Regions from separate parts of the Homo sapiens genome. Here region 2 is linked to region 1. Evidence: promoter capture Hi-C in human tissues and cell types (Jung and others, 2019). All regions are on one chromosome and are shown on one strand. The core of a region is centred on a gene start or on the middle of the fragment in contact, and the rest is flanking DNA. Distances in the headings are between cores, read along the strand shown. Region 1 holds the start of GCFC2 (GC-rich sequence DNA-binding factor 2). Region 2 has its middle 99 kb from the start of GCFC2.

What was found. The method cuts DNA at HindIII sites, captures the fragments that hold promoters and counts their contacts. A contact is called where the count stands out against the background at its distance.
Region 2: a fragment that was not itself captured here is called in contact with the fragment with the promoter of GCFC2 in region 1 in 2 of the 25 tissues and cell types used here (H1 embryonic stem cells and small bowel).

The regions. Positions count from the first base shown.
Region 1 is chr2:75,708,369-75,712,729 of GRCh38, reverse strand. It overlaps GCFC2 (GC-rich sequence DNA-binding factor 2), which reads left to right and starts at 1,815. Exons shown (of 17, transcript NM_003203.5): 1 at 1,815-2,139. The coding sequence starts at 1,875. It overlaps LOC105374813 (a long non-coding RNA gene), which reads right to left and starts at 1,791. Exons shown (of 3, transcript XR_940260.2): 1 at 1,696-1,791. RefSeq lists an enhancer at 434-1,005 and a silencer at 1,984-2,283. The HindIII fragment of the contact is 14,441 bases long and covers 1-4,361 here.
Region 2 is chr2:75,807,616-75,811,976 of GRCh38, reverse strand. No RefSeq gene overlaps it. Among named protein-coding and RNA genes, the nearest start is that of GCFC2, 99 kb to the right of the region's middle. The HindIII fragment of the contact is 7,265 bases long and covers 1-4,361 here.

The DNA.
Region 1 (4,361 bases), core at 566-3,065:
GGTTTGTGGTCTCGCTGGGCTCAGGAATGAAGCTGCAGATCTTCACGGTGAGTGTTACAGCTCATAAAAGCCACGTGGACCCAAAGAGTCAGCAGTAGCAAGATTTATTGCAAAGAGCGAAAGAACAAAGCTTCCACACTGTGGAAGGGGACCGGAGCGGGTTGCCACTGCTGGCTGGGGCAGCCTGCTTTTATTCTCTTATCTGGCCCCACCCACATCCTGCTGATTGGTAGAGCCCAGCGGCCTGTTTTGACAGGGCCGTGATTGGTGCGTTTACAATCCCTGAGCTAGATACAAAAGTTCTCCACATCCCCATCAGATTAGTTAGATACAGAGTTTCCACACACAGGTTCTCCAAGGCCTCACCAGAGCAGCTAGATAGAATGTCTATTGGTGCACTCACAAACCTTGAGCTAAACACAGGGTGCTGATTGGTGGGTTTACAAACCTTGAGCTAGATACAGAGTGCCGATTGGTGTTTTTACAATCCCTGAGCTAGACATAAAGGTTCTCCAAGGCCCCACCAGAGCAGCTAGATACAGAGTGTCGATTGGTGCACTCATAAACCTTGAGCTAAACACAGGGTGCTGATTGGTGTGTTTACAAACCTTGAGCCAGATACAGAGTGCTGATTGGTGTATTTACAATCCCTGAGCTAGACATAAAGACTCTCTATGTCCCCACCAGACTCAGGAGCCCAACTGGCTTCACCTAGTGGATCCCGCACCGGGGCTGCAGGTGGAGCTGCCTGCCAGTCCGGCGCCGTGCGCTCGTACTCCTCAGCCCTTGGGTGGTCGATGGGACTGGGCGCCGTGGAGCAGGGGGTGGTGCTCGTCGGGGATGCTCGGGCAGCACAGGAGCCCATGGAGTGGATGGGAGGCTCAGGCATGGCGGGCTGCAGGTCCCGAGCCCTGCACCGCGGGAAGGCAGCTAAGGCCCGGCGAGAAATCGAGCACAGCGCCGGTGGGCCGGCACTGCTAGGGGACCCAGTACACCCTCTGTAGCCGCTGGCCCGGGTGCCAAGTCCCTCACTGCCCGGGGCTGGCAGGGCCGGCCGGCTGCTCCGAGTGCAGGCCCGCCAAGCCCATGCCCACCCGGAACTCCAGCTGGCCCGCTGTCACCTCTCAATATGACGCCACTAAACATGGAGTTGATAACAGGTGTGCAGTAGCTCAACATTATATAGTATTTCTACCATACAGATACAGTAGTAGACAGAGCTTGATGAATATAGAACAAATTTGCGTCAGACAATAGCTTTTTGTTTTTAGATAGTTTCTTTAAGGGTGAAAACATTTAACCAGGCTCTCTTGAAGCCCTGCTGCCTGGGGGAAGTCATTTGATTTTTGCTAGTCTGTATGCATTGTTTATGTACAGACTTTATGGTTTTGTTCTCAAAGGCATCTCCTCCTACCCCGAGCCTCACACTGCTGGGGTTTCGTTTGTTTTAAATCTTGGTTGGAGGGGGCACTCTCTCCAGAAAGTAAAAGACAACGGATCTGGCTCCAGTCCAGGACGGAAAGCATAACGCTTGATTTCTGGATGGGGTTTGCACAAGGACAGCACGTGAGTTCTGCTCTCCGTGGGACTCAGACCGGATAGGCCGTGAAAATCTCTAAGGTGTCAGTCCACGCAACCTAACCTGGCAAAGGGAATGCTTTGCAAACTCAGGCCCCAGAACAGAACTCGGCCTACCAGATCCAGGGAGCCAAAGCACGCAGGCGCAGACAGAGTAGCGGTGAGCAGAAGGCAGGCGGGACGGGCGCGCGCACTCGGCGGCCAGGCGCGGCGGGAGCGCGCCCTAGGGGGCGGGCACTGAAGCTGCGGCTTGCGGTTCAGCGGGTTCTAGGGCGCCGGGCGCTCGGGCCTCGGCCATGGCTCACAGGCCGAAAAGGACTTTTCGGCAGCGCGCGGCTGATTCCAGCGACAGCGATGGCGCCGAGGAGTCGCCTGCTGAGCCTGGGGCGCCGAGGGAACTTCCGGTCCCGGGTTCTGCGGAGGAAGAGCCGCCCTCTGGAGGAGGCCGCGCGCAGGTGGCGGGACTGCCCCACCGGGTTCGGGGCCCTCGTGGCCGGGGCCGGGTCTGGGCGAGCTCCCGGCGTGCCACCAAAGCGGCTCCCCGCGCGGACGAAGGCTCAGGTGTCCAGGGAGACGCGGGGAAGCGGGGAGGTGACGGCACAGGGCGGGAAGGGGCCGCGGGGTCTCTGGATCCTTCTCTGGGGGTTCTATAACTTGCTGCCGACCACAAGCCATGCTGAGTCTTATCCAGAAAGACTTATCCAGAAGGTAGTGAGCGAGAAAATAGCTCGAGCACTTGCCCGCTATCTGCATCTGCCTTTTGGACTCCTTGGGGGAAATAAAACAATCGTGTACAGTTGGGAGGCTCTTCGTTTTCACCATCAGTTGACTCCATCAGTTATAACTAACACAGTTATCAAAGTTTATGAAGAACCTAAACTGTCACAACAAAGTTCAATAATTTATAATACTATTAAGTGGGCAGAAGTTATATGTACCTTTTAGACACTTGACCAACTTATCTTTCTTGAAAACATTTAGCCAGAGTAGTACAGGAATCTAGGTTTTGGGACATTCCCCTTTGTTTATTTTCTTTTTTCACCAGTTATTTGCAAAAACTAATAGTAATATATACAACACAAAGAAGCATGATAGAGATTCATGACACTGTAGATGGTACCAGTAATGGTGTTAGATATAGTGTCGTCATTTTGAAGTACCTTTGAGTTCTTAAATACAGGTGTAAGGCAGCATAAAGTTGTTTAAATAAAATGTGCTGCTCTGAGTTGGAATTGTAGCTTAATGAGGAATACGGTTTTTGGTTAGTCTTGAGAGCTAAAATCTTCCTATTATTTTTTATTGTCATTAAAGTGATTTTTATTAATTTATTGAGAAGTAAAAAATGTATATACTTATAGTGTACAACATGATGTTTGAAATGTGTCTACAGTGACTAAATGGAGCTAATTAACATTTGCTTTACCTTAGGTACTTACTTTTTTTTGTGGTGAGAACACTTACTATCTACTCTTACTAATTTTCAAGTATGCAATGCATTGTTATTAATTTTAGTCACCGTGTTGTAGAATAGAATTCCTCTTGTCTAATTAAAATGTGTGCCCTTTGACCAGTATCTTCCCAACTACCCTCAACCTCACTCAGTCCCTTCTAACCACTACTCGACTCTCTGCTTCTGTGATTTCTGATTTCCACTTTTTTAGATTACATATGTGAGATCATGTGGTGTTTGTCTCTCTGTGCCTGTCTTATTTCATGTAACATAATGTCCTCCAGGTTTATGATCTTCGTGATTTCTTGGTCTTTCTTGTGACCTTCTATTTGTCTAAAGTTTTCATGACCTTTTATATTTGTTTTCTGGTTAAACTTTGTAGATGAAAGTTGAAGTCAGGAGTTCCTTTTCTCTTGCCTTCTAGAATAGTGGTTCTCAAACTCTTTGGGAATTGGACCTCTTTTAGACTCTTAGAAATGATTAAGGATTCCAAAGAGCTTTTGTTTCAGTAGGTTATACCTATCAATATTTATCACACTAAAAATAAAATTTATTAATTCACTTACAAAAAATCTATTACATGTAAGGATAAGTAAGATTTTTGTGAAAAGTATTACCCCAAAAAAGGAAGAGTAGCATTGTTTTCAATTTACAGATCTCTTTAATGTCTGGCAAAATATTAATAGAAGACAGATGAATTGTCATAGGTGTTTCTGCTTTTAATCTCTTGTGCTATTTTGTTTTGGTTGAAGTATTTGAAGAAAATACAGCCTCTGACAGATACATGATTAAGACGAGTACTTAATAGCATTTTTAGATCATTGAGGGTGTTGTGCTTTAATATAACACAGCTCAACAAGTAATAAACTAACCCTTCTTAAAAGTTAGTTGCGGGCCGGGCACAGTGGCTCACACCTGTAATCCCAGCACTTTAGGAGGCCGAGGCAGGTGTATCAAGAGATCAGGAGTTCGAGCCCAGCCTGGCCAACATGGTGAAACCCCATCTCTACTAAAAATACAAAAATTAGCCAGGCATGGTGGTGGGTGCCTGTAATCCCAGCTACTCAGGAGGCTGAGGCAGAGAATCACTTGAACCCGGGAGGCAGAGGTTGCAGTGAGCTGAGATTGTGCCACTACACTCTAGCCTGGGTGACAGAGTGAGACTTTATCTCAAAAAAAAAAAAAAAAAAAAAAAAAAAAGTTGCCAAATGGATTCTTAAACCATATGATTAAATTTGGGGTGCTCTTACCTTAAAACTCTGTTCTGTTTTGTACTTTGGATCTTTTACTCATGAACGATTGGTAACATCTTGCATTATTTGGAAGGTATTCA
Region 2 (4,361 bases), core at 1,206-3,705, 99 kb before region 1:
AATTCAGGTACAAAAAAAGGAGAAAAGGTAAGGGATGGTGCCTGGAACAAGAAAGTATGAACTGGATATCCACATGCAAAATAATGAAGTTGGCCCCTTACTTCATGCCGTACGCAAAAAAACGATTCCCAGATAGAACAAAGGTCAAAATGTCAGAGCTAAAACTACAAAAATCTCAGAAGAAAACAAAAATATAAATCTTTGTGACCGTGGATAAGGCAATTGTTTCTTAGATATGACATCTAAAGCATAGGCAACCAAAGGAAAAAAAATAAATTATATTTCATTAAAATTTATAACTTTTGTGCTTCAAATGATACTATACTATCAAGAAAGTGAAAAGACAACCCAAAGAATGGGAGAAAACATTTGCAAATCATATATTTGATAAGGGTCTAGTGTCCAGAATACATAAAGAAGTATTACAACTCAATAATATAAAGAAAAATAAATTAAAAATTGGCAAAGGATCTGAATAGTCATTTCTCCAGGAAGGCACAAAAATGGCCAATAAGCACATGAAAAAAGCCGAGCATTCCATTCCTAATGGGAAATGCAAATCAAAACCACAACAAAATGCTACTTTATACCCACTAAGATGCCTGTGGGTATAAAGACACACAATAACAAGTGTTGGCAAAGAATGTGGAGAAATTAGAACCCTCATGCATTGCTGTTGGGTCTGCAAAATGGTGCTGTTGCTTTGGGAAGCAGTTTGGCAGTTCCTCAAAAATTGAACCTAGTGTTGGCATTAGAACCAGCAATCCTACCCCAGGTATATACCCAAGAAAACAGGAAACAAATGTTCACACAAAAACTTGCACATGAATGTTCATAGCAGCATTACTCATCATGGCAAACAACCCAAATGTACATCGACTGACGCATGAATAAACAAAATGTACTACCCACAAAATGTAATATTATTCAGCCATTTTAAAAATATGAAGTACTGACACACGCTACAACATGGATGAACCCAGACAACACTGTGCTAAATGAAATAAGCCAGACCCATAGAGTCAATATTACGTGGTTCCACTTGTATAAAATATCCAGAATCAGCACATCCACACAGGTGGAAAGTAGACTAGTAGTTGTCAGGGTCTCAGTGGAAGAAGGAATAGGGAGTGACTACCAATGGATAGGGTGGTTTCTTCCGTGTGACGAAAATGTTCTAAAATTAAATGGAGTTGATGGTTGCACAACTCTGTGAAAAGATTAATAGCTACTGAAATGTATATTTTGAATAGATGAGTTATATGACATGTAAATTACATTTCAACAAAGCTGTTTAGAGGAAGGGTGGGGAGGAGAGGAGGGAGGGGAAAAAGGGAGGGAGGAAGGAGGAAGAGAGAGAGAGACAGAGAGTGAGAGAGAGTATAAGCTTCTCTAGGAACCCCAAAGCAGGACTATTGCTGAATCTCTTTTGCCTAATTTGTTTTACCTGTAGATAGAAGTAGCTTCTTGAGGTTAGGACTTGCCACTATGTCTCCTGCAAATTCCTGGGGTTATGACTTACCATTGTCTCCTGCAAATATTGCTCAAAACACCTCAGTATTACTTGTCACTGAAGAAATACGAAGACCCAGGCTTAGAAGTGAATTAACTGGGTTTTAATTGCAGCTCTTCCACTTTGAAGAAATTCATATCCTCTCATTAGGCCTCTGAAAGATGCTGCCAGGGCTCTGCTCATTTCTTTTCTCATCCTTTTTCCATTTTTGTGCAGACTGGCTTATGTTCTTATTTCTCAAAGGCCTGCACTCCATCTTTTTGTCAGAGGCTGCCTTCAGGCTGACAGAGAGCCTAAAGGGCTGAGGACGTGTGCAACTCTTTTTTTTTTTTTTTTTTTTTTTTTTTTTTGAGAGAGTCTCGCTCTGTCTCCCAGGCTGGAGTGCAGTGGCCTGATCTCGGCTCACTACAACCTCTGCCTCCCGGGTTCAAGAGATTCTCCTGCCTCAGCCTCCCGAGTAGCTGGGACTACAGGCATCCGCCACCTTGCCTGGCTAATTTTTGTATTTTAAGTAGAGACAGGGTTTCACCATATTGGCAAGGCTGGTCTCGAACTCCTGACCTTGTGATCCGCCCGCCTCGGCCTCCCAAAGTGCTGGGATTACAGGCGTGAGCCACCGCACCTGGCCGTGTGCAACTCTTAGTCAGTGTCTGTCCTGTTGTGTACAGAGGATATAAATATCCCAATCACCTTGCTTTGCAAACAGGACACCTCCCAGGTTAGACCCACAGTGATTATGAGGCTTTCGTGGTTTTGAGCCAAAGCTGAGTACCCTTATGTGACCTTCTTCTCTTCCCAGTCCCGAATTCTTCGCTCCTACTAGGAACATATCCCAATAAATCCCCTCCACAGGAATCCTCAACTCAGAGTCTGCTTCTGGAGAACCCAACCTAAAGGAACCTTATATGCTTATCTGCAAAATAATAGTTAAGAGGGGTAATGGGAAAAAAGATCTATGAAGGCAACAGAGCAGGCTCTAGAACATGTCTTGTCAGAACATTCTTTTCTTTCAGTAAGTTTTTATAGGCCATGAACAGAAGGACCCAGAGGGAACTAACGATATGGTACAATGAGTGACTGAATAAATGGGCAAGGCAGAAAAACAGGAAGTCTTAGATGCCACACAGCATAGTAATTGAGAATGTGGACTCAGGGAAGCTGGCCTAAATTTGGATCTCAAGTACTCCAGCTACCTGGGCATGTGATTTATTTCTCTAAGTGTCCATTTTCCCCTCTGCAAATGGAAATAATAACAATACCTGTCTCATAAAGCTGTTGAAAGGTTTAAATGAGATCATGGATGTACAGCATCTGGCATAATAAAAAGTTAGCTGTTGCTGTGGTGGTGATGACAGTGGTTATTTTTATTGTAGATGTGTGTAGCATTAGTAGTAGAAGTAATCCGAGGACACCAAATACAAACTTTACTGACTTCACAATTTCACCACGATTGAAGTTAGATCTAATCTGACAGCTGGGCTAAATTCCAAACACCTTACAGCAGATGCAGGTTTAAATTTCATTCCAAAGAATGAAACTCAGTGCCTCATGTTGAGTGTTGGAAGTGTTTTGCCTGACGGCAGAAGGCACTAGGCTTCTGTTTCAGGCAGGTGACACAGGCAGGGATTTTAATCAGCCCTCAAGGGGGTCTTCCTCACACCACCCAGGCTTCTGGTACTGCGAGAAGAACCATAGCTGTCAAACTGACAGCTGAGCAGGAAAGCCTCATAAAATAACATGGGATATATATATATATATATACATACACACACACACACACATATATATGTTTATGTATACACACATATATATTTATTTATATTTATATATATTTATTTATATATACTTATTTATATATTTATTTATATATATTTATATTTATTTTTATATATTTATATTTATTTATTTATATTTATTTTTATATATTTATTTATATATATTTATATATATATTTATACACACACACACACACATATACTTGCTTTAATTTTAAAAGGATGAAAAATGCATGGCAATTAGACTTGCCCAGGCTTAAGTTATACAGTATGGCATGTCAGTCAGCAAGCATAACAATGAGACATAAGAAGTTTGAGGAATAGGTAAACAGCTGTCAAGCGCTGCCTGGAACACAGCTTAGATATGGCACACTGAAGGGGCACACAGTGCTATGGGTCATACAAGGCATCCCAGGAATGTTATATGCCTCACCCTAAGCTAAGCAAACTCCCCTAGGAAACCAGAGACAAGCTGTGGTTGTACACACCTGTGTAAGAGTAGGACTCCATATGTTCTGACTCAGGTTCAGTTCAACCAGTATTTCTGCTTCCCTCCTGCCCCTCCACAGTCTACTCTCCGCCAAGAGCCAGAGAGATCCTCTTACCACCTGCACTAGCTCATATCATGCTTCTACTCAAAACCCTACAATAGATTTCCATCACACAGGGAACAAAGACATTAATATAACCCCAACATAACCTGGCCTCTGCATCCCTCTGTTGCCTCATTTCCTGCCCCTCTCGCCCTTACTCACTTTACTCTAGCCCACCACCCTCCTTTCTCTTCTTCAAGTTTATCAAGCACATGCCCACTCCAGGACATTTGACTCTGTCGTTCCCTCTTCCGGGAATGCTCCCTCCTCCCACTCACTCCTGTATTTCTGTGGCTCATTTCTGCTCAAGTGTCACCTCCTCAAGGTAGACTGCTACCCAACGTATGAGGTAATTACTTGCATATGCGTTAATAGCCTTTCTCGCCCTGTAAGTAATGAAGACAGAGACTTTGTCCGTTTGTTCCCAGTTGTATCCACAGTGCCTAAAACTGTGCCTGGTATATATTAGACACTCAATAT